7 separate regions of the Homo sapiens genome follow, and regions 1, 3, 4, 5, 6 and 7 are each linked to region 2. The links are contacts of gene promoters, found by promoter capture Hi-C in blood cells and fetal thymus (Javierre and others, 2016). All regions are on one chromosome and are shown on one strand. Each heading gives the region's core, a stretch centred on a gene start or on the middle of the fragment in contact. The rest is flanking DNA. Distances are from core to core; before and after follow the strand shown.

Region 1 (3,801 bases), core at 73-2,572, 180 kb after region 2:
TAATACAATGCTGAGTAACTTATAATTTACTTAGATATCTTGCTCCTGTAAACATAAGTGAGTTAGCCTTCACATTTCTTTACTTATTCTATTGACCTTGCCTTCAAAAAATATCTAGAATCTGACCAATTCTCACACCTCTGCTATTACTACTTGGTCCTAGTTACCATTATAAATCTCTTGATTTTTTCAGTAGCCAATTAATGGTCTCCCTCCTTCTCCCCTTGCTCTTCTTGCGTGATTTACACAAGAAGCCAGAATGTTCCTTGTCACTCTTCTTTTCGGAATCTCCAGTGTTTCCCCAGGTAATTAAATAAAACCCAAATTCCATACAATGGCCTACAAAGTCTTACAGGATTCAACTCTCATTGCATTTCTGACTTCATCTCATTTTCTTCTCTTTCTTTCTGATTTTACTCCACAACAAAGTAATTTTTCCAGAAAATTATCCAATATTCAATTTTTTTTTAATGCAGAGTGCTGGCCAATTAGAATAAATGGATTGTTCTGATTCAGTGCACTGGTGCTGTTTGTATTTTCAGGCTTACAGTGAAGAATGAATGACTATTAAGTTTTAATTCCTGTGATTTGTCTAATGATTATGATACAAAGTTTAAATTAAAATGTCTTTAATCTATAGTTGTAGATTTTACCATGTCTTGCCTTATTCATTTTTTCATTTCTCAGCAACTTGTTAAACTCATAGATGGTAAAATTTAGCATTCTAATCATAAAAATGTGAAATAACTTGCTATAAATTTGAGACTTATGGTTTCAACAGCACAAATGAAGCCAAATACAGTCAAATAATGCAGTGATTCAGCTGAAATTCTCTAAGCAACTGGGTTATTAACAACAAAGAAAAATTCCCTTATAAATATGTTTTTCATATATATGTACCAACTTTTTGAAATTCCACGTTTTAAAAATATCACCAAATCACATTTTTTCAAAAGGTATTTGGGTTCTACCACATCTGGAATGGCCATATTGCTAATATCATTGTCACGTATTGAGTTGCAGTAATGATGGATTAGAAAAGGCACTTTTGAATAACCTGTTAAAGAATAAAAATTCCTTTTCTAAATTATTTAAAATAAATATGTTAACAAAACTATATTCAGAATCAGCATTTTTTAAGATACTGTATTCTGATTGTGAGAAAACTAAATACTTAATGTCAAGATGACACTTAACCAGTGAGTTACTGATAAACTTAAATTATCTCTTCTGTTGATATTTGTAATTTACAAGGCAGATATACGTGAGCTAAAACCAATGCTGAATAAGAAAAATGTGTTTATCATAATAAGTATACACATTTATTTGATCAAATATAATGTATCCAAGGTCATAATGAAAATCTGATAAATTATTCTGAAATATGAAGATGTTGACATAAAAATCCTCTATTAAAGGTAAATATTTCATGGTTTAATCATGTTATTTGAAAAATTGCATTTTATATTAGCTTTTCCTCTCGTGTTGAAATATTAGTTGTAAATCATTACATTCAAATATTCAAGTACGATAAGCACAAATTCTTTGGTTATATGTCATCTGTTGTTAAAACCTTAATTTTATATAAATGTAGTGTGTCTTTATATGTAACTTCACAAATTGTGTATGTTCTATAACCTTCCTATTACATACTATTGCCAGATTCTCCTCAATTAAATAATATAATCCTGTTTTTACAGTAAAGTTTTACTGAAATACATTACTAAGGCTTCAGAAGCAAGACAGGGACTATGAGTGAAATGAGACAGTTGGCTAACATCTCTATCTCCTTTTCTCTTCCAGTCTTTGCATGTCATGTCAGAGGAGAGACAGGTGAAGGAAGGTAGAACAGTGCTATTTCATGTAATATATCCACTAATTTTAGTTCCTAGGAAAATGGCTGTGTTGCTCTGGCCATGTCTCTTTGGGAAGTTATTAAATACTCATCCAGATGGCACCAAATGTTTATGCAGAAGCCAAAGGTTAAGTCTGTCAACAGCAGAAGTGCCTTAGACATGCTTACTAAATGATACTTAAATACCAGTTCCTTGGAGCCCACATAAATCCAGCTTCAGTGAGAAATTACGCACAGAGAGGGTGCATAGCTTTTACTCTAAGAAAACTACCTTAAATACCATAAGCAACGGAGAGAAAATCTCAGCTGGTCATTTATAAATCAAATGACATTCAATTAGCAGATGCCCCTAATGCACAAGAGATCATATAGTGTTCACATAAGGGAATTTTTGAAATAATTATTTTTCTAAGTTGGTATGTACAAGAAACAAAAATAACTGCTCAGTAAGTGATATGGTCCCTTTCCTCCCTTCCTCTTTTACCCACTCATTTAGTTGAATGCTTACTGTGTGCCAGATACTGTGTTAAGCCCTGCAGACACAGTAACAAACAACAATCATTGTCGTTGCCTTCAGAAAACCTACGTGGTTTAAGAAAAAGCAACCAATTGGTTAAAGTTGATCATTTTTAAAATGATCGTTTGTGAATTGTGTATAAAAAGTTTACAAGTATTTGTACAACTGTAGTTGTTCATATTATACACAGACATCTAGTTATTTCAGAGAAAATTATTTTTTACCAGAATTCTTATGTTGTAATTTAAAGTTATTTACTTTTGGTTTGTTAAAATCAGTTAATTGGAATTAATATAATTCTAATCCTTTTTAGAGACCAATCGTTTTTTAGTTCCATTTAATATATCAATATAAGGCATTACCACAAAGATTTTTAAATGCTTAGAATAGAATTGAATTAAACTAATTTTAATGTAGATTTATGACTGAAATAAATACGTGCTTTGCTGCATATAATTTTTCAAAGGCTTACCCATTTTATAATTTTCTGATGGCATTTAGAAAGGTTCTTGTTGTATGCCCAAAGAGCGTAATTCCTCTTTCCATTCTGACTAGAATTAATATGTTCTGTAGCATATATGTATTATAAATATTTATATGTACATATAAATGTATATATTATAGCATAGTAATTAACAGGCTATTCAATTTAAGATTATTTTAAATTCCTCACATATCAAAATCTGAGTTATTTAGACACTTTATGAGTTGCCTAAATTTGAATCAACACTATTAGTTTTCTAAAGTTGCGTAATTTGTATTTAATTCATTGTTAGTTTTCTGAAACTAGTAATCCAACTTAGTATTGGGATTTCTGAGGTCCTAATCTGCCAGTAGAAAGAAGGCAGTTGAAATATTTTAAAAAATCAATCCTTTTTTTTATTTGTGGGCAAAAGACATGTAAGTGAATTAGTTGATTAAAATATAAGGTATTTTTCTACAATACAAAGCTATTTTTATCTATTCTGTGAAGAAATACTGGCGAGTTGATGCTTAAAGCCCTGGAAATATTTATGTTTTAGCCTCAGGGAAGATTTATGTTTTGGAAAAACTTACAGTTGGCTCGTTCGACATGGAGGTGATTTATATCTCTTTCGTTAGATGATTAATTTGAGAATAACTCCTTCTGCCCTTTTGTTTATAGTTTGCTTCTGTTTCAAAAGGCATTTTAAATTGTTTTCATCAAAAGTCCAAATTATGCATTTTAAACCTCAATCAGTAAAACTTTCTTTCCTAAAAGTGCTATGCATTGACAATTTGTGACTTTTACAAAAGAGTTATTTTATTTCATGTTGAAATACTCAGCAATCTAGAAAAATAAATTAAAATGTATTTTAAATGCCATTAGAAAATTATAAGATGGGTAAGCCTTTTGAAAAATTATATGCAGCAAAGCACGTATTTATTTCAGCCATAAATCTACATTAAA
Region 2 (4,351 bases), core at 1,599-4,098:
AAGCAACGGTAAACACAGCATTTAAAATAAAAAGATGTCCTAATTTACTTTTGGCAATTACTCAGAATTTAGAATTGATATAACTACTTTCTTTTTACCCTTAAGAATATCATACATAGTGCTGGCCTAAAAAGGAATATAATGGGAAGTGCATGCTAGGGATGACAAGTCAGATTTGGTAATTACAGTTAACAGTAACGTCTGTTCATCCACTATTGACGCATTGAAGTATTTCCATGGGATATGTAAGGGAGTCATGTATAGCTGTGCCCCATAAATTCAATAAAGAATGAACACTCTTATGGTTTGGTAACTGAGAAGTTAGCTGGGGGCAATGGTGAAATTCTTTCTTCCTGAAAAATGGAAACTATGAAAGGGGAGAAAAGTGAAAGACATTACAAAAGGGAACAAGAGCAACATGACTGGGAGTACAGAAGTATAGAAAAAAGGAAAAAAGAAATAGACATAAAGTAGACGAGATGGACAACTAAGGGTTAGGAGAAACACATTTTAAAAATGTATTAAATCCAAATTATAAAAAATGGTACAATGATCATTGTAAATTGTTAAATTTATATCAGTGGGGCATTACAAATATGGAACAGTTTTTTAAAATGTTTTCAATGGAATTTATCCCTCACATGACATAAAAACATTTAATTGTATCTTCCTTTAGGCATAAATGTTGAAAGAAGTTCGTTTTTTAAATCTGTTAAATTTTTTAAGTACATACGTGCACACAGATGAACTTGGTGTTAGAAGTGCTGCAAGCTGTTTATTAAAACTTAGAGTGCTGTCAGATTCCCCTGATATTTTCAGATGTTTGTTTACCAGCAGTAGCTTCAGAAGCAAGAAGAAAACCGGATCATTTATAATTGTATTTGGCTTAGATAAATAAAAGGTGTTTGGCTAAAGGTTCTTCCTAATTGAAGTCACTTTAAAATTCAATAAAAAGAACTGGCTAAAGAAGCAAACCCTAGGTATACAATAGTTTGTAATCATGAAACCAGCCTAGATTCAAACCCTTTCCTGAAAGAAAAATAGAGAAATATTTGTTGCCCTGGGGATGTTGGTGTATCTAGAAACAGAATAAGCAACAGATAATAATAATTTGAAGTTTTATTTATTCATTTTTCACTTTCTTCCAAAATCTTGCTTGGGTCAATATTAGAAATAAGAAAAGGGCCATTTTGAAATATAAACAAAAATATAAGTGTTTAGCTCTCTCAAATATCTTAACAATTATGAAATTATTAAAATGTTTAAGAAAATAATTCTAAGATAAACTTGATTTACTTGTATTAAAACAAAAATTAGAGACAAAATTGTGGACTTCCTTTTAGGTAGTTTTAAAGCATTACTTTAAATAGTTTCAATTAAGTGTAAATAAGGTGAATTTAATAGTCTGACAAAGAAATAAAGCCTGGATGCTCTTAGTTCAATTCATTAGTGATGGCAAGGTATATAAAGTAAAATTGCTTAGAGAAAGAAAAAAATCAAATGGGATAATACTTCAAAAAAATAGAGACTGATCACCAAAAGTCTAATGAAGGTTTGTGAATCATGTTTTTCAAATGGCCATTTGAGTAGCGTGACTCATGCAATATCCTCCCTCCTTGGCCTCTTTCCACAGTCAGCCAAAAATTAGTGATGAAAATCATATGAGAAGGAAATGTATCAAGTGGTTTTAAATCCTGACATAGAAACATGGTTTGCATCACCATGAATGCCGAACTCTAAAACTGCAGGTATCTTGATTAGGTTGAGAGAGAAGTTTAAAAATCACAAGTGATACTTTAATGGTTTCACTCCAATGAAGTGGAAAGGAGCTATCTTTTAACATTTTTCTTAACATCTTTATTTTTTGCCTGCCTGATTTTATTTATTCCTTGATCTGTGAGCTCTGATATGTGAAGTGTATTTCTATGGTTCTAAGGTAACTTTTAAGCTTGATGATTTTCACCATTGTGGATCAATAATATAATTTATCCTATTTCTCCCACTGTGGCAATACTGAAATAAAAATGTAAAACCAGTTTATCTGTTTTCTAATGCCTGGTTTACTCTTCTGAATTCTATAAATCATTCTGTTTTTCATATATACACATACATATGCATACACTATATGTATACATATAAATTTACTATATATGTATATATACCTACAAATATATATGCCTACAAGTATCCATATATACCTCCTATATATGTATATAAACCTACTATATATGCCTACAAATATATATATACTCTCTCTACACACACATACATGCACCTACACAGAAATCTGCAGGAAAATGACACTTTCACATATTCAAAGGGATCCCAAAAGAGTTCAAAAGCCAAGATTGGAAGCACCAACCCATGGAAAGATGTATTTAAAATCACAAAATACTTCTGTGGACACTGAGAAAAACCAAGCCACACAAACGTTTACATATGAGCGTGATTAGAAGGTGGGCAGACTGCCTTAATCAACTTTATATAAACTCTTGACATAAAAGTGAAAAAATGAAACATAAATGATATATTTTCTTAGCTCAACCGTTAAAAAGCCAATTACCTACTCGTGAACGTTTGCCACATACAATAATACTTTGAAGACACTTCATGATCAGAAGTGAGAAACTCTAGGCATTTGCATCCAACCGTCATTTTATCTGTGAAACTGCTAGTAAAACATAAACCTGAAAGGCATTACTCCCAGCTCTAAGGCGACATCGCTGTCATTAAAGAAAACCTGTGCCTGAGTTGGCTGAGTACCTTCTTGCAGAGTCCTCTGTCCTCGCGGAGTGGGAGGGTCACACTGGGAGAGACTAATAAGGGCAGAGATGCGTCCCCCTTCCCCACTCGCAGGGAGCTCACTCCTCGGCGGTGCCGCAGCCCTGTCCGGACTCCACTGCGCCTCTGAGGGGCTCAAATACGAATTCAAGGTAAGCTGCGCGGCTTTGCGACCGGCTCTGCACTTGCCCTCTCACACATGCCCGGGCTATGTCATCTGCTCGTGTTCCTAGTTATCTGTGTGCATCTGCTTTTCAAGAAAATGTAAAAACTGTGCTACACATGGAAATATGTTTAGGTGGATAAATAATGCACACCTGCATACGTTTCCATAGGGGCCTTAAGGATGGGACCAAAAACGTTTGGCAGGAGACGGCCACTCTCATGTGGTACATACCATGTAGTTCGTGTTCCTATGTTCACATGATGCAGGCTTCATGCGTTACACCTAAGTTCTAGGTGGTTTTTCTGGCTATGTGTGTCTGTGAAGCGGAACTATGGAGCACTGCTGATGCGGGTAGGGACAGACATCAAATACATTACAAAAAAAATGGGGGGTTAAAGGAGTAAAACAAACTCACTATCAATTCATGCCGTTAGAGCGCTTTTTTTTTTTTTTTTTGACGGTGTTAGCCCTGGAAGCGAGGCAGCCAGTTAAGCGGCGTAAGCTAAGAGACGCGGGGTTCCGGTGCGGTGCCCTCCGGCCCGGGGTTACCTACTCCACATGTGGGTGTTTTTCCCAAGTGCGGCTTCTGGGGGGCGGCGCGGGCGCGGGCGGGGATTCCCGGACTCCAGCCCCACCACGTTCCGGAGCGTCCGGCCCTGTTCCTTAATTACCCTGCAGCATGCGCAGCGCGGTCGGCCACAGCGCCGCCGCCGTCCCCGCAGTCCTCCCTGCAGCCACCGCCGCCGCCGCCGGAACGTCCCAGTCGCGGCGCGAGGAAGACGCGGCCCCAGCCTCTGCCGCCTCCGCTGTCAGAGTCCCGAGGCCACCGCCGAGAGCGCGCCGGCGCCGCAGCCACAGCGGCCGAGAACCAGGAGGCGGCGCCGGGCGGCCCAGCTAGGGCGCTGCAGGGTCGCGAGGAAGTTTGTTGGCCCGGAACCAAGCACGCCGTCGGGCACGCTAGCTCCCCGAGAGCAGGCGGGCGCGTAAGCGAACCCCCTTAGAGGTTACGGAGGGAGCGGGAAGCCGGCAAGAGGGTGGGCAGAGGAGCTGGGGGACAGGCGGGTGCCACAGGAGCCCCCGAGGAGCTTCATTTGATGAGAAGGTGAAGAGGCAGAGGGGACCAGCGTGCCTTGTCAGCCTCAGGGGACAGTGGGCTGGAGAGCAAAAAGAGGAGGGCCCAGAATGCTGATAATAAGTAGTTTTAATAGAACAATCCGTGAATAGAGGCAAGAGAGTGATCATCGGCCACAGCTTGAGATTGGGAGATGGAAGAGTAAGGGAAATAAATTGCGCCACCTCCCTCAATCCCCAATTCCAAGACGACTCAGTCCCATCTTCTGCTTGGATAAGTCTGAGGAGGATTAAGATGTGAGGATAATCACTCTGCTGTAGGGGAATTTACAT
Region 3 (4,252 bases), core at 690-3,189, 240 kb after region 2:
ACATCTCCGTTTTGTAAGTGTGTGTGTGTGTGTGTGTGTGTGTGTGTGTGTGTGTGTGTATCTGCAGCGGTTTGATTTTTTTATGTGATGAAATTACTGTTCCTACTGATTCAAATAAATTATTCTGAAGGTAATATTGTTTTTAGCCCATTATCTTTAGTCTTTGAGTGGACGGGGAATAGGCTTGTTTGCTGAAAGAAAACAAAATTGACAAAGGTTTGATTGTAGCCCATTTAATTTCAGTCTTGTCTGAATCCACTGGATATCACTTTGGTCATTAGAGATGGAGAATTTCATCACATCTAAGTCTTTTCTTTTTCCCCACAGCTAAATCTGATGTTTCCTTTCTGATAGGCTATAGGTTGAGTCAGTTGAACAGTTGGGGCAATGAAAATACATACCCTCAAAACGCCATAGAACTAAGTGCCTTCCGGCACTTGTGCCCCCTTATCCATCGCTGTTCTCAACTTGAGTATCTTCCGTCTCCAACTTTATTTACTATGCACTGAAAACTGAAAGGAAAGTTATTATTTTCAGCATATAGCAGGACCCACCTCTAAAACAATTTAGTGTCCCAAAACACATTTTTGGACTGCTGAATAAAGCAGATGACAAAAACTGTCTCAGTGAAACATTTGATCACTTGTTAAAATACCCTCAGAATACCTTGAATGTGACTACATGCATTTTGAAGCTCATCATGTATCAATGGGAATCCAATTCAAATTCTTAACATCCCTTCTAGAAGCTTGAACTGATCAGGGCTTAGTCATGTTGCTCAGTTTTCCTTTCAGCAAGAGAACCACAATCTCTTCTGTTAAATGACTAAAGTCTGTGCAATGTAATATCTTCAGAGAAAATGAACCTAACAATTTATTTGAGTCAATGGGAATAGGAATTTCATTTCTTAAAAAAAAGTAAGATGACACTTTCTCAGATTTAAAAATATAGACACATAAGACCTATAAAATGGAGACATGGCTAGTTAATCATGTTTATTGCCACTTGTCCCTCATGGGGGTAATGGTCCCAGACAAAACAGCTGTTCCCAACATTGCTAAAATTCCAGTGTCACCTTGTGTGACCACAGAATACATAGACATGCATGTGAGGCAGCTGGGGATATCAGGTTGAGATTTTGAAAACTGGCTCTCAGGTTTTATTTTCTAATTATTTCTCTTTTTCTCTCCCTACGGACAGCAGCAGTAGGACATTATTAGTCACTTTCTGACTTCCTGTGTTTTTTACTAATAGTGGTAACATTATGGTGGAAAAAATATTATATTTGTACAGCCACTGACTGCTTGTTTCATCTTGTATTATGTTCTTGAAACCAACTATTAAGACATCTGGACTGACATGTGTTATTTACAGCAACGATGAGACAGACTATTTGAAATCCTTGATCTGTGGTCACCAAACTTGTAATTAGTTGTGATGGTGCCTGGATTCAACATCATTTCTTTGTGTTGGGTAAACATTAAGATTTGAGAAGTCAAAGGCCAGTCAGATTTATTAGAACCTTAATTTTCAGAACGGGATATTTGTTTCCTAAATAATCTTATAGTTTGCATTTGATGATATAGTTTCCAAGAGGATCTCCATACTGTATGTAATTTTACTGCTGTATATCTTTGTGAGGTAGGCAAGAAAAGATTATTTTCATTTAATAAGAATATTCTAGGTCCTGATGAATAAGGAGCTCAGCTCAATTTTTGCAGTCAGTTTTCTCTGCACATCAGTAACTATAGCTTAGTATGATCAAAGTAAAGACTGAAGGAAATTATATAACTAGAGAAGCAACAAGTTTTCAGCATTGTCTAGGGGACCTAAAACATGGAAGAAAAGTTGGCAGAAAATAAGATTTGAAGGGTCTTCAGCTATGTCTGTAATGAATTCATTAAAAAGTAGAAAGACCCAAAGCAAATATCGCAAAATTGTTAATATTTGACAACATAGGATTTTGGACTCATTGCAATTTATATTATTTTCTGTACTTTTCAGCATGCTTAGAATAGTTCAAATTCATTTTAAGAAGCAGGAAAAACATTCTATGGGATTAGTAACAGTTAATATCACTGATTACTTCTTCACTGGCTGATATCATCAGTATCTTCTCCTTTGACTGAAATCCTTTGTGGAATGGGGCCACGTGTTTTAAAACTAAAATTATTAACTATTTTTTAGAACTTTCCTGAGCACACTGTCTATAACCATGGTGTTCAGCTGAGCCAAGAATTGTCATTTGTAGATTTATCATTAGCACAACCTATAGATAAGGGAGAGACCTTAACATCACACATTTGAGTTGAAAGTGAGGACCACAATCACCCAATTATTCCAGAGCTGCCCAGAATGTCCCCAGCTATTCAAATTGTGCACATGCTCTTGGCCTCTATGTAACTTGGCAGTGTATAAGCTAGTGCCACCAGCCTGGTTATCTTAAGTCCCAGCAGTGTGCCTTGAAACTTGCATTTTCTTAACTCAGGAAGAGTTGTCATTCTACCAACACTTTTAAAGAGAATGAATGTTATCACCTAATTACAGTAAATGGAAACTCAAAGCATTCATAGGTGTGGGCTGCCTGTGGGGTCCATGTAAGCCATCTTTCCTCCAGATTTTGGTGGCATATTGAAAAATTCCTGAGGTCAAACAAGGGGATGGAGGCACAGTTGTTCCTAAGGTATGGTTTTTGTTGGTGGTGATCTTTTGAGGACACCACTGGATACAAATAATTTGTTTCACACATTCCCCTCCTTGCTAGTTTTCATGCCCCTGTGGCTTTTATCACCTTGTACTGGGTCATTGATGTTGCATCTGTGGGTGGCAAGGCACTCTAAAGATTCCTGCTGCTCCTTATATTGCAGGACACTGACAAATAATATTTTTCCTTTTTCAGGACATACTGGGGAGAGATGAGTATGAAACATTTTATGGATGGATAAGCAGAATAGCAGCATTAGGGGAGGAATCTTTTTTTTTCTAACTATCATGCCATGGAGATCAGTCAAAATGTCCCACTCTATCAATAAGGCAGTGGGCTTTACACCAATTAGGTTGATATCTGGGGAAATAAGTACCTTTAAATATATTTTTTTCTGCCTTAGAAAACAAAGTGTTAAAAAATCTACAAGCTTCCTAGCATAATTTAGAAAATCTGCTTTTATGAAATGGGTTAATTATGCCCATTGAATGCATTCACTGTCACAGTCTCATCCTCCCACTTCTGTTCCAAAATGACAAGTGAAACCAGGGACTGTGCAATTTTGGAAGACAATCAGATCACATATTGAGTATTTTGCTTATTCATACAACCATAAACGGCCTATGCTTGAGTTCCCTCAATTACACAGCTCAGTATGCAGGCCAGAAGCAGACAAGCCCAGCTCAAGTGAACACTTTCCTGGAATACACGGGGGAACGAGTTTGAAAAATGTCCAAAGTGGCAGATGTGAAAAATTCTCATTCAACATCCAGAGCTGCCTTTGCTGCAATCCTTCACCTGTTAATCGCACTGCCTCTGAACTTGTGAACCAGGGATGCTAGCGATATCTTAGACTGAGACACTTAGGAGCTATAGATCTTTCAAGGTATGGTGCCAGTATATGCCAAGGTGGGGGAAAAGCTAGCGAGACAAGACAAGATCATGGATCACAGCACTGCTCAGAATTTTCAGACATTCACCAAGAATAAGCATGTCGCTGCCAGCTTCCAACTAAACTGTTATTATCTTTTGTAGGGGAAATTCCCAAAAGATGTCCTTGATAAATGCTTAAACCATTGTACTGTATCACTTAAATTCTTCAGACTCCTGCAATGCTAATACACAATCTCTCCTCCACAACAGAATACAATGGCACTATTGTAGTCTTAAGTGAAGGATATTTCATTTTCCCTGAGTGAGACAACTTTCCCACAACTGTTATCCACTGCAATTTCATGCTCCTTGGAGTTTCTGTGCACCAAAATCATCCCCAAGCAATATACTCTCTTGATTAGCTAGTATTTTATTCCACCTCCTTTGACTATATTTATTTTTTCTTTTCTTCCACCATCTTATAAGCGCGAAGGCTCCTTGCCCTTCATTTGGCATTATTGAAACCTCAAAAGTTATTTAAGATGCTGGTTGAGATTGTTAACTTCCTTCCTTTTCCATCTCAGCCTAACTCTGATCTTTCTTTCTCCTGCTCTCTTTCTAGTAGAAGCCCTCCATGATTTTGAACTTCCTTGTGTCTCTGTGTTGTTCCTCTCT
Region 4 (3,806 bases), core at 994-3,493, 220 kb after region 2:
ATGCTATGTAAGGTTTTATTTCAGGCCAGTAGGTTGGCCTCAATAACATTAAATTTCAAACTGAGGATTTGGGGTATATTTTTCTTAGATATTTGCCAAGAATGTAATTGATCACTGGCTCTACATCTGAATGTGTTCAGCCACCTTCTACGTGCCCCTAGGCAGTTTAATTCCTCTGGGAATGCTTGGGACCTTCTGCACAGAAGAATGGGTAGACCTTTCACAGAGAGTTCATTCCGTGGCAGCTACCATACCTGCCCTCCAGAATTTATAGTCTAATCATGAGGAAAAGATCATAGAAAGCCCCTTTCAAATGTATATATTTCTCTTAAATGCCTCTCAGATCTTCATATATTCTAGCCCACTATCTTTAGGCAGGTATGTTTTTATTCCTTTTTTTTCCCTAAGGTAGAAATTGCTCAGGCTGAGAGATTATGTGACTTTTTCAGATTCACTTAATTAATAAATGAAAGAGGATGTACTAGTGGTCAGGTATCTGGCTTCTCATACAATGCACATTTTTTTTCTATCCTGTTTTTTAAGTCAATGATCAATTTGTGTCATAAATATATGAGTTAGAATCTGTATCACCTCAATATAATATACACCCTTCTAAAATATAAAGCATGACTATGGGTAACAAGTATTGAAAGTATGCCAAAATAGAAATATTGCTGCTCCAATCATCCAAAGCCACTATGTCCACGTTTAATGCAGACTTATAATTCTTGAAAATACTGGTGAACTACTATTCTCTTTTGTGGATCTATTTAAATAGCCTTATTTTTTTGTGCAGAACAAAACTTATATTGAGGAAAGAAGAGAAATATTCTAATACCAGACTATGAGCTCCTCGAGGGCAAGATCTGTGTATAATTTTTCTCTTTACTCTCCAACATCCAGCATATAATAAACACTTAATAAATATACAAATGCTTATCATTGATACAAGACTGTCTTTATTTTTCCCATTCATTTGTGTTCCTAAGTGGCAGTTGATTTCTCATTAAAGTAGTAAAAAATCTGTAACTTCGATTGTTTCCAACATTAGCTCCTGTAGTTTTAGTTATTGTTGATTTTTGAAAGATTTAAATTAAGGGTCTGTCTTCAGGAGCTCAAACATCTAAATGAACGTATGAATATTGCCATGTAATTTTATGTTTGAATCCCATAGACAAGTGACTGGATTTTTCTCTTTGCCTCTGGAGATCTTGACATCAAATAGATTTCACCTACATGTGTTTTCTCTTTTGAATGGATTTAAATCATATTTCTTCAATTTGACTTTTTCCAAATAATCATCTGGTAAAAATACTTTATTATGTGTAAGAAAAAGATCAATATAACTTTACTTAAATGTATAGTTTTTTCTCAGTTGTTGGTTTGTCAGCCATGATCCAAGATAAGGGCTTTTTTTCTTTCATTAACCCCTCAAGGCTCTCATTTGCAAAGTCAATGGGACAGTTAGGCATGTATTTTTTAGGGCATCTTTGTAGCTTTGATTCTATATTTTAAAAGATGCCCAAACTATGGCATTATTTCCCATAAGATCTCTAAGTTATTGGTTGATCAAAATATAAATGAGACAATAAACTACATTTGCATATTTCTGTGGATGAGTTTAAACATCCTTGTTTCTCCTGCAAGGTCTTTCACTTGAGTTAGGCCAGCCAACTGACATATTGCTCATTAATCATACATATTAACTGGAGTAGTTAATGCTTCAAAATCCAACTTACCATTCTGTCCACAGGGACTGGTTTGTGTTTTCTAAATGTGATGACATATGCTTCAGACACTGCTAATTAGGCCTTTCCCTTGAAAATTCATCCTGACATGTTTCAAGAACACTTTTCTCCCTTGAGTACAAGTTCATTAAATTATTAATATCCTTTTATAAGTCTTGTAGGACTACTTACACAATGCAGCTTTCTCTGTTTTCAAAACTATAGTTTATAATGAAGGATGAAATAGATCTCACTTCCTTATACTGTATATCTTTTTTTCCAGTCAAAAACAATGGGCTGGGTAAATATCAGAGAATAATAGATACTATATTCAGTTACATAAAATGTTAATGTAAGATTAAAAATATTTTTTAGCCTGGGCAACATAGAGACACCCATCTCTACAAAAAAATTAACAATTTGCTAAGTATGGTGGCACATACCTGTAGTCCCAGCTACTTGGGAGGCTGAGGCAGGAGGATACTTAAGCCCACGAGGTTGAGGCTGCTGTGAGCAATGATCACACCACTTTACTTCAGCCTGGGTGACAGAGCAAGACTCTTATCTCAAAAAAAAAAAAGATTTGCACATGGAAATGGAAATGGAAATGTTATACGGTCAGCTGTTTGTATCTGTGGGTTTTACATCCGTGGATTCAACCAACCATGGATTGAAAATATTTGAAAAGAAAATATGGTTACATCTTACTGAACATGTACAGACATTTTTTTGGTCATTATTCCCCAAACATTACAATATAACAACTATTTACATGGCATTTTCATTGTACGTATTATAAGTAATCTAAAGATGATTTAATGTATATGAGAGGGTGTGTGTAGCTTATATGCAGATTCTATACCATTTTATATAAGATACTTGAATGGCTATGAATTTTGGTATTGGACAGTGGGGATCTGGAACAAATCTCCCACAGATACCAAGAGATGACTGTACATATAATCGACTCTACACACCTGTAAGGAAGTGTTATAAGCAATCTAAAACAGATAACCTAAAATTAGTTCTATTGAGCTTCTGTATTAAATGATGAATTTGGTGGCAATTTTACCTTCTGGCCTATTATCTACCTAAGCAGGTGCTTATACCAACCTATATAATATGACCTTTTTAAGACGAAACTCCTAACGGCTTCACATCACAATCACAGTAATGAAACTCAGAGCACTCACCATAATCTACAAGGCCCAGCCTAATCTGGCCTGCCTGCCACCCAACCACACACTTGCTCTTCTCTAGCAACCTGTGTTTCTTTCTATTCCTTGAAGAATTTGTTCTTGCTGTTCCCTCTACTGGACAGCTTTCCCTGGATGCACCTGGATGCTCTTTCTCAGACCTTGCATGATCCTTGGACTCACTTTGTTCACATTTCTGCTGAGGGCTTCCCTGATTTTTCTATCTAAAACAGCACACCTTCCTGTATAACTCTGTACTGCCTTACCCTGCTTTATTTTTCTGTATTTCCTATCACTATCCAAAATTCGTATCTTTATTTATTTAGTTCTTAGAGATGCAATAAGTATAGCCTAGTGGTAATGGTCAGAGATGATACAGCCAAGTTGCCTGGATTCGAGTCTTAACTCTGGTGTTTACTGGCCCCATAACCTTGGGCAAGTTATGTTGTCACTAATTTGCCTCACCCTTAAAATGGGAATACCTCAAATATATTTTGAGGATTAAATGAATAAATATGTGTAAGTTTCTTTGAATGATATTTGGCATCTATTACTATTATTGTCCCCACTGGTATATAAGCTCTATTGAGACAGAATTCAAGGTATTTCCAGAGCATGGTAAAGCATCTAACCCACAATAGGGACTTCGTAAATACTTCTTAAATTAATTTATGAACAATTCTGGGCACATGCCAGCTGAAAGTGGGGAAAATATCTTATAAAAACACAGCGAAAAGCCAGCAGGTGAACAAATAGAGTTTAAAAGTCATAATGGAAATTTTATGTAGTTGAGAAAGCTGAGTTGGTTATGTGAGTTTTGTAAATGTAAATGCATATGTACTAGATGTAGCAGGAATGAGGGGAACAAGATGTATTTAGGGTT
Region 5 (3,791 bases), core at 1,287-3,786, 160 kb before region 2:
CCTAGATCCACTTTCTTCCTCTAGTTTGACTTGAATGTTAATGTTTAAGAAACACTAAATGAGCTGGGCGTAGTGGCTCAAGCCTGTAATCCCAGCACTTTGGGAGGCTGAGGCAGGCAGATCGCCTGAGGTCAGGAGTTCCAGACCAGCCTGACCAACATGGAGAAACCCCGTCTCTACTAAAAATACAAAATTAGCCAGGCGTGGTGGCACATGTCTGTAATCCCAGCTACTTAGGAGGCTGAGGCAGGAGAATCGCTTGAACCTGGGAGGCGGAGCTTGCGGTGAGCCGAGATTGCGCCATTGGACTCCAGCCTGGGCAACAAGAGCAAAACTCCATCTCAAAAAAAAAAAAAGAAAAGAAACATTAATTGAAAATTTGGCTTCCTATTTCTGAATTACACCAATTGTAGACAAACACAGAGATAAATGAACAGCAACCTTCATATCTCATTTAAGGAAAAAAAGCAGTGTTTATCTCCTCATAATACACATTAAACCCTCAATTACATAACGATCAGTTTGTACCCCTAGAGATTCCTTCAGGCATGCCTATTACCCTATTCCTAACTTAGGATCAGACATGGAAAGATGGGTAAAAATTTAGATCAATATTCAGAAATGACACATTTACTAACAAAAAGAATAACTGTACTGGAGGTTTCAGCCAGTGAAATTAGAAAAGTAAAAAATAAAAGCAATTACAAATCTTATAAGGAAGAAGTAAAACTGTCTTTTAGCAGCTGATATGATCATGTATAAAAGAAAACCTCCTAAGGAAGCTACAATGAAGGTACTAGAACTAATAATTTAACCAGGTTGCAGGATATAAGAGTAAGATACAAAGACAAATTTCTACATACTAACAACAAATATTAAAAACTGAAATTAAACAACATAATTTGCAAGACTATAAAAAATACTTAGAGGTAAATTTATCAAGATATTTTTAAGACCTCTACTTTGAACACTACAAAACATTCCTGAGAGAAATTTAAGATGTAAATAAATAGATATCATGTTCATGGATAGAATATATCAATTCTCCCCCAAATTTATCTATAAGAGTGAAAGTAATCCCAATAGATATCCTAGTGGATGTTTTGTGGAATTATAAATTGATTCTTAAATTTATATGAAAATGCAAAGGATTTGGCAAAGCCAAAATGATTTTGAAAAAGGAAAATAAAACTGAATAATTTATACTACCTAACTTCATGGCAGATTATAAAGCTCTATTAACCAAGTATTAGCATAAAGACATATATAGATCAATGAGTAGAATGGAGATTCCAGAAATAGACCCACACTTACACTACAATCAATTTATTTGACAAAACTTCCAAGGAAAGCCAATGAGCAAAGGATAGTCTTGAAAAAAAAATTATGCTGGAACAATTGGATATCCACATAGAAAATAAAATGAACCTTAACCCTTAAGTCATACCATAGCACAAAAGTAACTTAAATGGGGTCATGATCCCAAGCATAAGATGTAAATCTACAAAATTTCTAGAAGAAAATGTTTCTTACCTTAGGATAGACAAACATTTCTGAGGACACAAAAATATGAACCAAAAATAGACATATAAATTAATATTCATCAAAATTTAAGAAACATCTGAATTACAGTTAAGAAACCAAAAACATAAAGAAAACTTGCCACGAACTAGGAGACGATACAATACATATATGTGACAAAGTGCTAGATCCAGACTATATAATGAACGCTTGTATCTCACTCATAATAGAAAACCCTAATTTAGAAAATGGCCAAGAGATTTAAACACACATTTTACAGAAAATAGCCAATAAGCATACAAAAAGATGCTAAATATCATTTAGTCACCAATGAAATGCAAAGCAAAACTGTGAGATGCTACTGCATATTCATAAGAATAACTCTTACAGACACTACATAAGAGTTGACAAGAATGTGAAACAATGGGCAATCTCTTATTGCTGTGGGAATGCAAAACGGTTGTAACCCTTTTGGAAAACAACTTCGGCAGTTTCTTATAAACATATTAAACGTTAGATCCAAAAATTCTACTCAAGTATTTATCCAAAAGAAATGAATGAAAGCACATCTACACAAAGGTTTGTACAAAAGTGTTCATATTAGCATTATTCATTATAGTCTCAAACCAGAAACAACCCAAATTTCCACCAACAAGGGTGAGTGAATAAACAAATTGTGATACAGACACACACTGTAATACCACCGAACAATAAAACTGAATAAACCACTGGGCAAAAAAATAGTATTAAATAATAACATGAGCAAATCTCAAAAACTGTGCCATGCCAAAGAAGCCATCAGACAAAAGATTGTACACTCTATGATTCCATTTATTTAAAATTCCAGAACACATAAAACTGACCTCTAATGATAGAAAGGACATCAATAATTACCTAAAGTCTGAGCTCAGGGGAGCAAGAGAGGGCATGAGGTAGATTTTTCGAGTGATGTGGATGCCCTATCTATCTATATTGGGCAAAACCAGTCTGTACACTTAGTAAAGTTGATTTGAAAATCCTTCTAAACATATGTTTGGTGAAATGGAACATAGCATATATAAAAGAAGGCAGCTGATGTTAGAGACCAGATTATAAATATTTATAAAAACCTAAAAACAATTTAGGATTAAAATAAAGCTGGAGAGAGTTTCATCATACTTTCAGTGCTATGAAGACAAATCACCTTGGGGTAAAAAAAACTGGGATGAATTTTTTAAAAATTTATTCTAACAGAAGATTTAAAAAGTGATTATATAGAAAAATTAACTGATTATGGTATATTTTTAAAAATCTCTTTCAAACCAGGCGCTTTTTAGGGTGAGCAGTTAGTGCATTTCTTTCTAATTATAAAAGGTGGAGAAAGCAGCACCCAAATTGAACCTGACTGACTCATCTTTGAATGGTTCTTTGAACCATTTCTTTTTCTTTTTTTTAACATTTAAGTTCACGGGTACAAATGCAGGTTTGCTACATAGGTAAACTTGCGTCATGGGGGTTGTTGTACAGATTATTTCATCACCCAGGTACTAAGCAAGGAACCCATTAGTTATTCTACCCGATCCTCTCCTTCCTCCCACCCTCCACCCTCTGAAAGGCCCCAGAGTGTGTTGTTCCCCTCTGTCTGTCCATGTTGAACCACTTCTTTTAAAATTTAGCACAAACCCACTTTCCAGCTTCATTCTGCCTAACTTCAAGTTAGTCCACTGACTGAATTTTCTGAATTACAACTTGTGTGCTATTGTATACAAAGGTCTGGTGTTTGAAATGCTTCCAGATATACAATGAGCATATTTGGAAGTCTGTGGCCAACAGTTTTTGTTACTTTTTAGTCTCAGCCATATTAAAGTGATCTTAATTCATTCTAGGTAATTAGGTTTAAGTACCATAGTCCCAAGAATTCAAGGCTGGCAAACAATGGTTTCCAAAAAAAGAAAATAATAATTTTCCATGTCAAATAATATCTTTAACATACTTTCAGAAACATAATCTAACAATGAGGCAAATTCTATTACTGTCAGAGTTCCTATGTTTTTTTTTTTTAAAGTCATTTTGTTTCTCACAGTTTTAACAACCCATACAAATAGATAAATTCATAAAGAAAATGTCACACATACATAATTGGAACATTATTCAGCCTTTTAAAAAATAAGAGAATCCTCTTATTTGTGACAACATGGATGTGCCTGAAAGACATTATGCTAAGTGAAATAAGTCAGGCACAGAAAGACACTGCACAATTCTTATGTGAGACACCTGAAATAGGAAAAAGT
Region 6 (3,758 bases), core at 287-2,786, 210 kb after region 2:
CATAATGTCAGAAACTAAAAAATGTAATAGAACTTATAGACACTTTTAGGCATAGTTCGTCATTATTGCTACTGCTCTTTCCCAAATGCCCTATTTATCAAAAGAAGTAGCTAGAGCAGGTATTATTGACATTATCCACATTTACAAATAATTATATGCATTTGGATTATATCCATATATGCTCAGTGATTTATTCTACTTTATAAGCTACTTGAATGGGAAACAAATGAATTTTAAAAATGAGCGTTCTTACATATTTACATTTAGGTCCAACTGAGTGCCACCATTTCTTCTCAGCTCAATAGTTAAGGAGTACTCAGCTCTTTCAGACATATAAATGTATTTGTACATGTATGCCTGTGTATATACATATGTGTGTATACATACAGATGCACATTCTGAAAGCTAAGACCAATAATTTTTCTATTTCACTAAAGTTTGCAGTAGAAAACAATAGTGAGAAAAATCTAGGAATTTAAAATCATTTTTATTTACCCAATGTTAAAAACCTCTTGTATTTTAATTGAGTGGTTGACCAAGAAGGTATTGACTATCATTAAGGCTATTTAAATGAAACATAAAATATGTGAAGTTTTATGTACTTTATTCCTAGACATAATGACTTTAATTAAAGCAGAACATTTAATTTTAAACAAATCATTAACTTGTTGGTTTTCATCAATGATTAAATACGTAGTAGCTACTACTCTACCAATATCTCACAATTATGGTGAGTTTCAAACATGGGTGTCACATTTAAACATGCTTTGAAAAATATCAAACATTATAGAAACATGTTAATATTGCTATTATTATTATGAAAGACATAGGATTCTGATCAATGAATTCTTTTTCTTTTTCTCTAACTCTTTGTGTAGTTTCCTATAAGCATAATAGCAACACTATTTTTGCAAGTACCACGCCAAGGTTCTGTTTGAAATTTTGATTAGTTGATTTTATTTTTTTAATTATCATTTAAGCTGCTAAATCTTAGTTTATAAAGTGTTCATTTAATAAAATGTAGAAGTAATGTGCTTCTTACACTTAAAAGCTATTCTTAACAATGTTCTGTGACAATATGTATCTGAAATTTATGGGCTGTTTTATTTCTCAACTTCCTGATTTTCATTTTTTGGATCTTTTATATGCCATTATTTATTTATTTACTTTGTCTTCTTGAAGCCCTGCAAGCAAAATATTTGGTTGACATATTTTTTAGTCTTACATCCTTTATGGATTCACACAGTTTTTAGAATTCAATGAATGTTGAATATTGATCCTAAGCTACAGATGAGAATGTTTCAGATCACGATGAGGGAGAACAGAATGGCATTGGGGGTTGGGGGCCTTCCTGGAAGTTAAGAGGGGGTTTAATCCATCATGAGGCAGAAAAAGGCCGTACAGAACCAAGAAGTCAACAGAAGAGCGGTTCTAGATTCTTGAAGGGTTCAGCAGAATTAAAATTTGGAACAAAGTAAGTGGAGGGATGCTGGATAAGAGAAGTGGCTGGAATTGGTGCCAGGGGAGAGAAGTTCGGTTGAGTAGTGAGGAGGGCACTGGAAACAAAAATCTCAAGAAAATGTGTAAGGAAATTAGGGCATGAGTTGTGAGGTAGGAGAGGCAAACAATGGAGATTGTGGTGGAGGGAAAAGGACAGGAACTGGATGGAAACCCAGAGAAGTATCTTTGTGAAAAGTGGAATATTTCAGGTAGCAGATCATGTTCATGGATATTAATGAGAAACATTGCAAAAGAACTGGCATTATAAAAATTCCATTTAAGATGTAGGTTCCTTGCAGGATTTCTTAGTATTCCTAACAAACAGACTCTCCCCAAAAATAATGAAAACAATAATTTTTATGTAACCTTGAATTTTCATTTTATAGTCACATTAAATGCACATCTGAATAATCTCAAGGTTAGCGTGAAGCTACCCTGGTCTTTTTAAAAGAAGTTCCTCTAGGTCTCTGAAAAAAGACATTTACTGGTGAATCAACTAGTTACTGCCGCAAACAGAAGTTTGTGTGGTTGGACCAAGATGACACCTCACTCTTGCACTCTGTTGCTGGATCCTAATTTTGATCCTGAACAGAAACTTTATGTTTTAAATTCCCTGTAACTTACCCCTCTATCCTGCCCTGTCTTGCTCTCAATTTATCCTCTCTGCCTGTGCCTGTCCTTTTTCCCCTCTCTGGGCAACCATCCTCTTGATTGCCTCCTTGCAACATTTTTGTGCAGGTTTTACTTTCCCTTGAAGTGCTTGCTCCAAGCTGGCTTTGAAGCTGTGTCTGGAGTCAGGATTCCTTGCATTCTAAACAGCACAGAGAACATCAACCTACCTACCCCTGCCCCCGTCAAGATGTGTTTCTTTGCACCAGCCCACACTTGATGGCAAAGGGGCTGGGTCACATTTCCTCCATGAGCTGGGAGCCTACAAAAGTACAGGAGGGCAGGGCAAGCAACATGTCCACTTTCATCTTATGGTGCAAGCAACTTGGAATTTAGCATACAGGTTGCACCACAGACTTTGGGGCCAGATTGCCTGAATTTTATTTATTTATTTATTTATTTATTTATTTATTTATTTATTATTGAGAGAGAGTTTTGCTCTTGTTGCCCAGGCTGCAGTGCAGTGGTGCAGTCTTGGCTCACTACAACCTCCACCTCCCCAGTTCAAGTGATTCTCCTGCCTCACCCTCCCAAGTAGCTGGGATTACAGGCATGCACCACCATGCTTGGTGAATTTTTGTATTTTTAGTAGAGATGGGGTTTCACCATGTTGGTCAGGCTGGTCTCAAACTCCTGACCTCAGGTGATCCACGCTCCTTGGCCTACCAAAGTTCTGGGATTACAGGCCTGAGCCACAGCGCCTGGCCCAGATTGCCTGAATTTAAATCCCAGCTTTACTGCTTATGAGCTTTGTGATCTTGTGTGAATTCCTCAGCCACTCTGCACCTCACATGCCTCTTTTAGAAAATGGAGATGCTAATAACGCCTACCCCACAGGGCTGTGATGAGGAGTAATGCCATGTCGGTGTTAGCCTAGTGATCTCAAGATGTTTATAGAAGGGAATGTAGGTATACAGCTTCAGAATATTAGTACTTGATTAAGGAGAATGTCTAATTGATCAAGAAAAAATATTTAAGATAAAATGACTTTTTTCACTACTACTCTGTTGAATCTATTTTATTTAAATTTTACCTGAATCTTACTTTACCTAGATGTCCATGCCCATTTTCTAATGCCCCAGAAGCTTGAGGCCCAGTGTTGATCTAACTTGATAATAAAATTAAGTATGTAAAAATGTCTGCAAGGTAGAGTAGACTATTGCCTTTTCCTTAAAGAAAGATATGAAGATTGGTGTCATCACTGTGGAGTAGCTGAGACCTCAAAATTTGTTTGATGAACAAATTGTGCTGATCATGTGTAAATTTACTGGGATTTTCATGTAAAATTTACACTTGGTTTTTCTTTTGGTTTGATTCTGAACTGGTTGATATACTTTACCTAAGACAGCACAAGTAATGAATTATGTTATTAATAAGTACTGGGGTATATTGATCTCATTAGGTAAAAGGACATCAAAGTCATTGCTTCTATGAAATCAACACATACAACAGGACTCACTTAAGCAAAATTTTCCTTAAGCTTATTTGTTTTTACAGGGCTTGGGATATTTTTCAAGTGAAATTGTGCCCTCATAGTCTAGCCATGCTCTATGAAAACTTTGTAGAACACAGCAAGACAGTAATGCAGG
Region 7 (4,062 bases), core at 686-3,185, 150 kb after region 2:
AACCTGAGAAAAACAAGCAATGGGGAAAGGATTCCCTATTTAATAAATGGTGCTGGGAAAACTGGCTAGCCATATGTAGAAAGCTGAAACTGGATCCCTTCCTTACACCTTATACAAAAATCAATTCAAGATGGATTAAAGATTTAAACGTTAAACCTAAAACCATAAAAACCCTAGAAGAAAACCTAGGCATTACCATTCAGGACATAGGCGTGGGCAAGGACTTCATGTCCAAAACACCAAAAGCAATGGCAACAAAAGACAAAATTGACAAATGGGATCTAATTAAACTAAAGAGCTTCTGCACAGCAAAAGAAACTACCATCAGAGTGAACAGGCAACCTACAACATGGGAGAAAATTTTTGCAACCTACTCATCTGACAAAGGGCTAATATCCAGAATCTACAATGAACTCAAACAAATTTACAAGAAAAAAACAAACAACCCCATCAAAAAGTGGGCGAAGGACATGAACAGACACTTCTCAAAAGAAGACATTTATGCAGCCAAAAAACACATGAAGAAATGCTCATCATCACTGGCCATCAGAGAAATGCAAATCAAAACCACTATGAGATATCATCTCACACCAGTTAGAATGGCAATCATTAAAAAGTCAGGAAACAACAGGTGCTGGAGAGGATGTGGAGAAATAGGAAACACTTTTACACTGTTGGTGGGACTGTAAACTAGTTCAACCATTGTGGAAGTCAGTGTGGCGATTCCTCAGGGATCTAGAACTAGAAATACCATTTGACCCAGCCATCCCATTACTGGGTATATACCCAAATGAGTATAAATCATGCTGCTATAAAGACACATGCACACGTATGTTTATTGCGGCACTATTCACAATAGCAAAGACTTGGAACCAACCCAAATGTCCAACAATGATAGACTGGATTAAGAAAATGTGGCACATATACACCATGGAATACTATGCAGCCATAAAAAATGATGAGTTCATATCCTTTGTAGGGACATGGATGAAATTGGAAACCATCATTCTCAGTAAACTATCGCAAGAACAAAAAACCAAACACCGCATATTCTCACTCATAGGTGGGAATTGAACAATGAGATCACATGGACACAGGAAGGGGAATATCACACTCTGGGGACTGTGGTGGGGTCGGGGGAGGGGGGAGGGATAGCATTGGGAGATATACCTAATGCTAGATGACACATTAGTGGGTGCAGCGCACAAGCATGGCACATGTATACATATGTAACTAACCTGCACAATGTGCACATGTACCCTAAAACTTAGAGTATAATAAAAAAAAAAAAAAAAAACACATGAAAAAAAAAAAACAAAACAAAACAAAGCAAACATGGAAATGTTTGTTATTTTAATTGTTATGATGGTTTCATGGCTGTTTGCATGTGTCAAAACTCATCAAATTTGTGTACGTTAAATATGTGAAACTTATTGTATGCTGGTTACACCTCAATAAAGCTGTTAAATTTTTTTAAATTTAAAAATATTATTTCAAGAATAAAATAACCAAACCATATTCTGGGAGCAAGTATTTGCAAATTATATATCTGATAAATGACTTGTATCAATAATACATAAAGAACTTTTACAACTCACAAATAAGAAGGCAAACTAAAAATGGAAAAAAGATTTAAATAGATGATTCTTCAAAGAAGATATGTGAATGTCTAACAAGCAGAGGAAATGATCATTAATCATTAAGAAAATGCAAATTAAAGCCACAATGAAATACTATACATCCACTAAAATGGCTATAATCAAAAAGATTGACAAAATTGGTGAGAATATGTGGAAATCAGGAACCCTAATACACTGCTGATGGGAATGTAAAATGGCACTTTGGAAACTGGTTTGGGAATTTCCTAGAAAGTTAAACACATACTTACCTATTATGACCTAGCAATTGAACTCCTGGGTATTTACCTAAGAAAAGTAAAAATCTGTGTCCACAAAAAGATGTTTATTTTATTGTTCATGGCAGCATTATTTAGAATATCTAAAAATAAGAAACTGGTGAATTAATAAATAAAATATGGTGTACCCACATAAATGATACTACTCAAAAAGAAACAAACTACTTAGCCATGCAACATGGGTAAACTCAAAAGCATAATGTTGAATCAATTAAGCTAGACAAAAAAGGCTACATATTGTATAATTCTATTTATATGAAATTTCTAGAAAAAAGCAAAACTATAGAGACAAAAACTATGTCAGTAGTTTTCTGGGACTACAAGAGTGAGAAGCAGTTGACTACAAATGGGCACAAGGAAACTTTTTTAGGTGATGGAAGTATTTTAGTCTTAGGTTGTGGTGATGGGTGCAGACCTATATAAATTTACTAAAACTATTGCACCCTACATGTACAGTGTATCAGTATTATGGCAAGTAAATCATACCTTAATAAAACTGTTAGCTAAACAATAAAAAAGATATCTATGCTGGAAGTAGGAACATGAGACTCATTAGCATATAGATGATCATTGTAGCTGTAAAAGTAGAGAAAACATCTAGGGAAAGTTTGTTGAAAGGGAAAACATAAGAAGCTGGGACAGATCCCTGTGGAGCAGCAACACTTAGAGGATCTAGCAAAAATGAAAATGAGTAAATGCAGCTACAGAGGTAGAATAAAAATGAAGGAAATATAGTATCACAGCAAGTAAGTATTTCTAGGAGGGGGCTTGTCATAAAGATATCAAATGCTTCAGATAGGTTAAGGAAGAAAAAGACTAAAAGGTGTCTGATGGTGGTCACCCAAGACCTTGGCATGAGCAGTTTTTGAGGACCAAATAAGGTACAAGTCAATCTGGAGTGAACTGCAGAGTGAGTGGGAGTAATGAATGCAAACAGGAGTATTGGGAGCCTGGCTCAAGAAGTTTATCTGAAAAAGGAAGGATTTCCTTCCAGGTGAAGCTGGAAATGACAGGATATAGAAGTGCAAGATTTTGTTTTAACAGAAGATTCAACAGCATGTTTCAGTGTGGTTAGAAAGAAGTGAGGGAGAAAAGGCTGAAGATTCAGAAGAGGGCCATAATGAGGGAGCAGAAAAAGATAGGATTGAAAACACAGGTTGAAAGATTACCATTAAACAGTAAGGAATAATTGTTCCATGTAGAAGAGTAAAGAATGGTTTTAAAATAAGTGAATTTGTAGATTTCATGGCATCAAGGAAAGGCTTGTATGATGGCTTCTTTTTTCTTGGTAGAAAGCAAGGTTTTTGAGAGTAAAAGCAGAAGTCATAATACCAAGGATTTGAGGGGAATGGCACTCTTTAAGGACCTAGAATTAGGTTAGTGATCATGAATTTATAATAATACCAGTCTACCCAATTGTATATTTTTTCTCTAGGAACAAGAGGTGGACAGTTTGATTCACTGGAGTTAGCTCCATCAGAAAGCTAGTAGAGCAAGGGTGTTTAGAGTGGTGGTAACAAAACACTTGGAATGACAGATCATGGATGGACAAAAGTGAAGGCATTGGGGGCTGATAGACATTGTCTTCACTTGCATTCCCCTGAAACAAGGTCCGAGACAATGACTTTAGGTCAGGTAGTTGATTTGAGAGGGAGCTCAGGATACAGGAGTGACGGAATGGGGAAAATAAGTCAGGAAACAAGGGAAAGATAATTAAAGGGTGCATGTTTTGAGCTACGTATCATTGTGGGTAACTGCAGCTGAGTCCTACTGGAAATCCTCTGAGGAAGCCTGTAGAATGTGCCTGGAAATTATCCCTCTGTAGAACAGAAAGCTGACACATTAATCCACTAATTCCTGTCACCCTTTGCTGGAGAATTATTTCTAGAAGCATTAACTACCCCCATTTTTCCAGGATACCTTGCCAGGGCTGAACAAACTCTCTGGCTTCAGAAAAATCCCAGAGGCAGAAAATGAAAAGTAATGGGGAGGATTGGGCTTGAGGTGAAATATTGACAGCATCCAAAACTCCACAGGAATTTTCTACCACCAGCTTCAGCTAAAAGCTGAAGTAGTCCTAGGGGCATATGGTAGAAGATGAAATTGAACCAGTTTACAAAAGTCCCTATGCAGTCAAAGTAATTGAG

Evidence for each region. The method cuts DNA at HindIII sites, captures the fragments that hold promoters and counts their contacts. A CHiCAGO score of 5 or more calls a contact.
Region 1: a contact is called between a fragment that was not itself captured here and the fragment with the promoter of COL19A1 in region 2, in 1 of 17 cell types (naive B cells). The highest score is 5.8, in naive B cells.
Region 3: a contact is called between a fragment that was not itself captured here and the fragment with the promoter of COL19A1 in region 2, in 1 of 17 cell types (naive B cells). The highest score is 5.6, in naive B cells.
Region 4: a fragment that was not itself captured here is called in contact with the fragment with the promoter of COL19A1 in region 2 in 2 of 17 cell types (total B cells and naive B cells); the score reaches 8.7 in total B cells.
Region 5: a fragment that was not itself captured here is called in contact with the fragment with the promoter of COL19A1 in region 2 in 2 of 17 cell types (naive B cells and total B cells); the score reaches 5.6 in naive B cells.
Region 6: a fragment that was not itself captured here is called in contact with the fragment with the promoter of COL19A1 in region 2 in 1 of 17 cell types (naive B cells); the score reaches 6.8 in naive B cells.
Region 7: a contact is called between a fragment that was not itself captured here and the fragment with the promoter of COL19A1 in region 2, in 1 of 17 cell types (naive B cells). The highest score is 5.1, in naive B cells.

The regions. Positions count from the first base shown.
Region 1 is chr6:70,046,063-70,049,863 of GRCh38, forward strand. All of the region lies in intron 14 of COL19A1 (collagen type XIX alpha 1 chain), which reads left to right. Among named protein-coding and RNA genes, the nearest start is that of COL19A1, 180 kb to the left of the region's middle. The HindIII fragment of the contact is 6,984 bases long and covers 1-3,801 here.
Region 2 is chr6:69,863,708-69,868,058 of GRCh38, forward strand. It overlaps COL19A1 (collagen type XIX alpha 1 chain), which reads left to right and starts at 2,849. Exons shown (of 51, transcript NM_001858.6): 1 at 2,849-2,933. RefSeq lists silencers at 3,487-3,536, 3,757-3,806, 3,817-3,886. The HindIII fragment of the contact is 9,714 bases long and covers 1,947-4,351 here.
Region 3 is chr6:70,109,525-70,113,776 of GRCh38, forward strand. All of the region lies in intron 16 of COL19A1 (collagen type XIX alpha 1 chain), which reads left to right. Among named protein-coding and RNA genes, the nearest start is that of COL9A1, 190 kb to the right of the region's middle. The HindIII fragment of the contact is 2,386 bases long and covers 747-3,132 here.
Region 4 is chr6:70,087,883-70,091,688 of GRCh38, forward strand. All of the region lies in intron 15 of COL19A1 (collagen type XIX alpha 1 chain), which reads left to right. Among named protein-coding and RNA genes, the nearest start is that of COL9A1, 210 kb to the right of the region's middle. The HindIII fragment of the contact is 9,444 bases long and covers 1-3,806 here.
Region 5 is chr6:69,708,892-69,712,682 of GRCh38, forward strand. The region is part of intron 9 of LMBRD1 (LMBR1 domain containing 1); the gene reads right to left. Among named protein-coding and RNA genes, the nearest start is that of LMBRD1, 86 kb to the right of the region's middle. The HindIII fragment of the contact is 5,858 bases long and covers 1-3,791 here.
Region 6 is chr6:70,070,412-70,074,169 of GRCh38, forward strand. All of the region lies in intron 15 of COL19A1 (collagen type XIX alpha 1 chain), which reads left to right. Among named protein-coding and RNA genes, the nearest start is that of COL19A1, 210 kb to the left of the region's middle. The HindIII fragment of the contact is 3,432 bases long and covers 1-3,252 here.
Region 7 is chr6:70,015,088-70,019,149 of GRCh38, forward strand. The region is part of intron 11 of COL19A1 (collagen type XIX alpha 1 chain); the gene reads left to right. Among named protein-coding and RNA genes, the nearest start is that of COL19A1, 150 kb to the left of the region's middle. The HindIII fragment of the contact is 6,043 bases long and covers 1-4,062 here.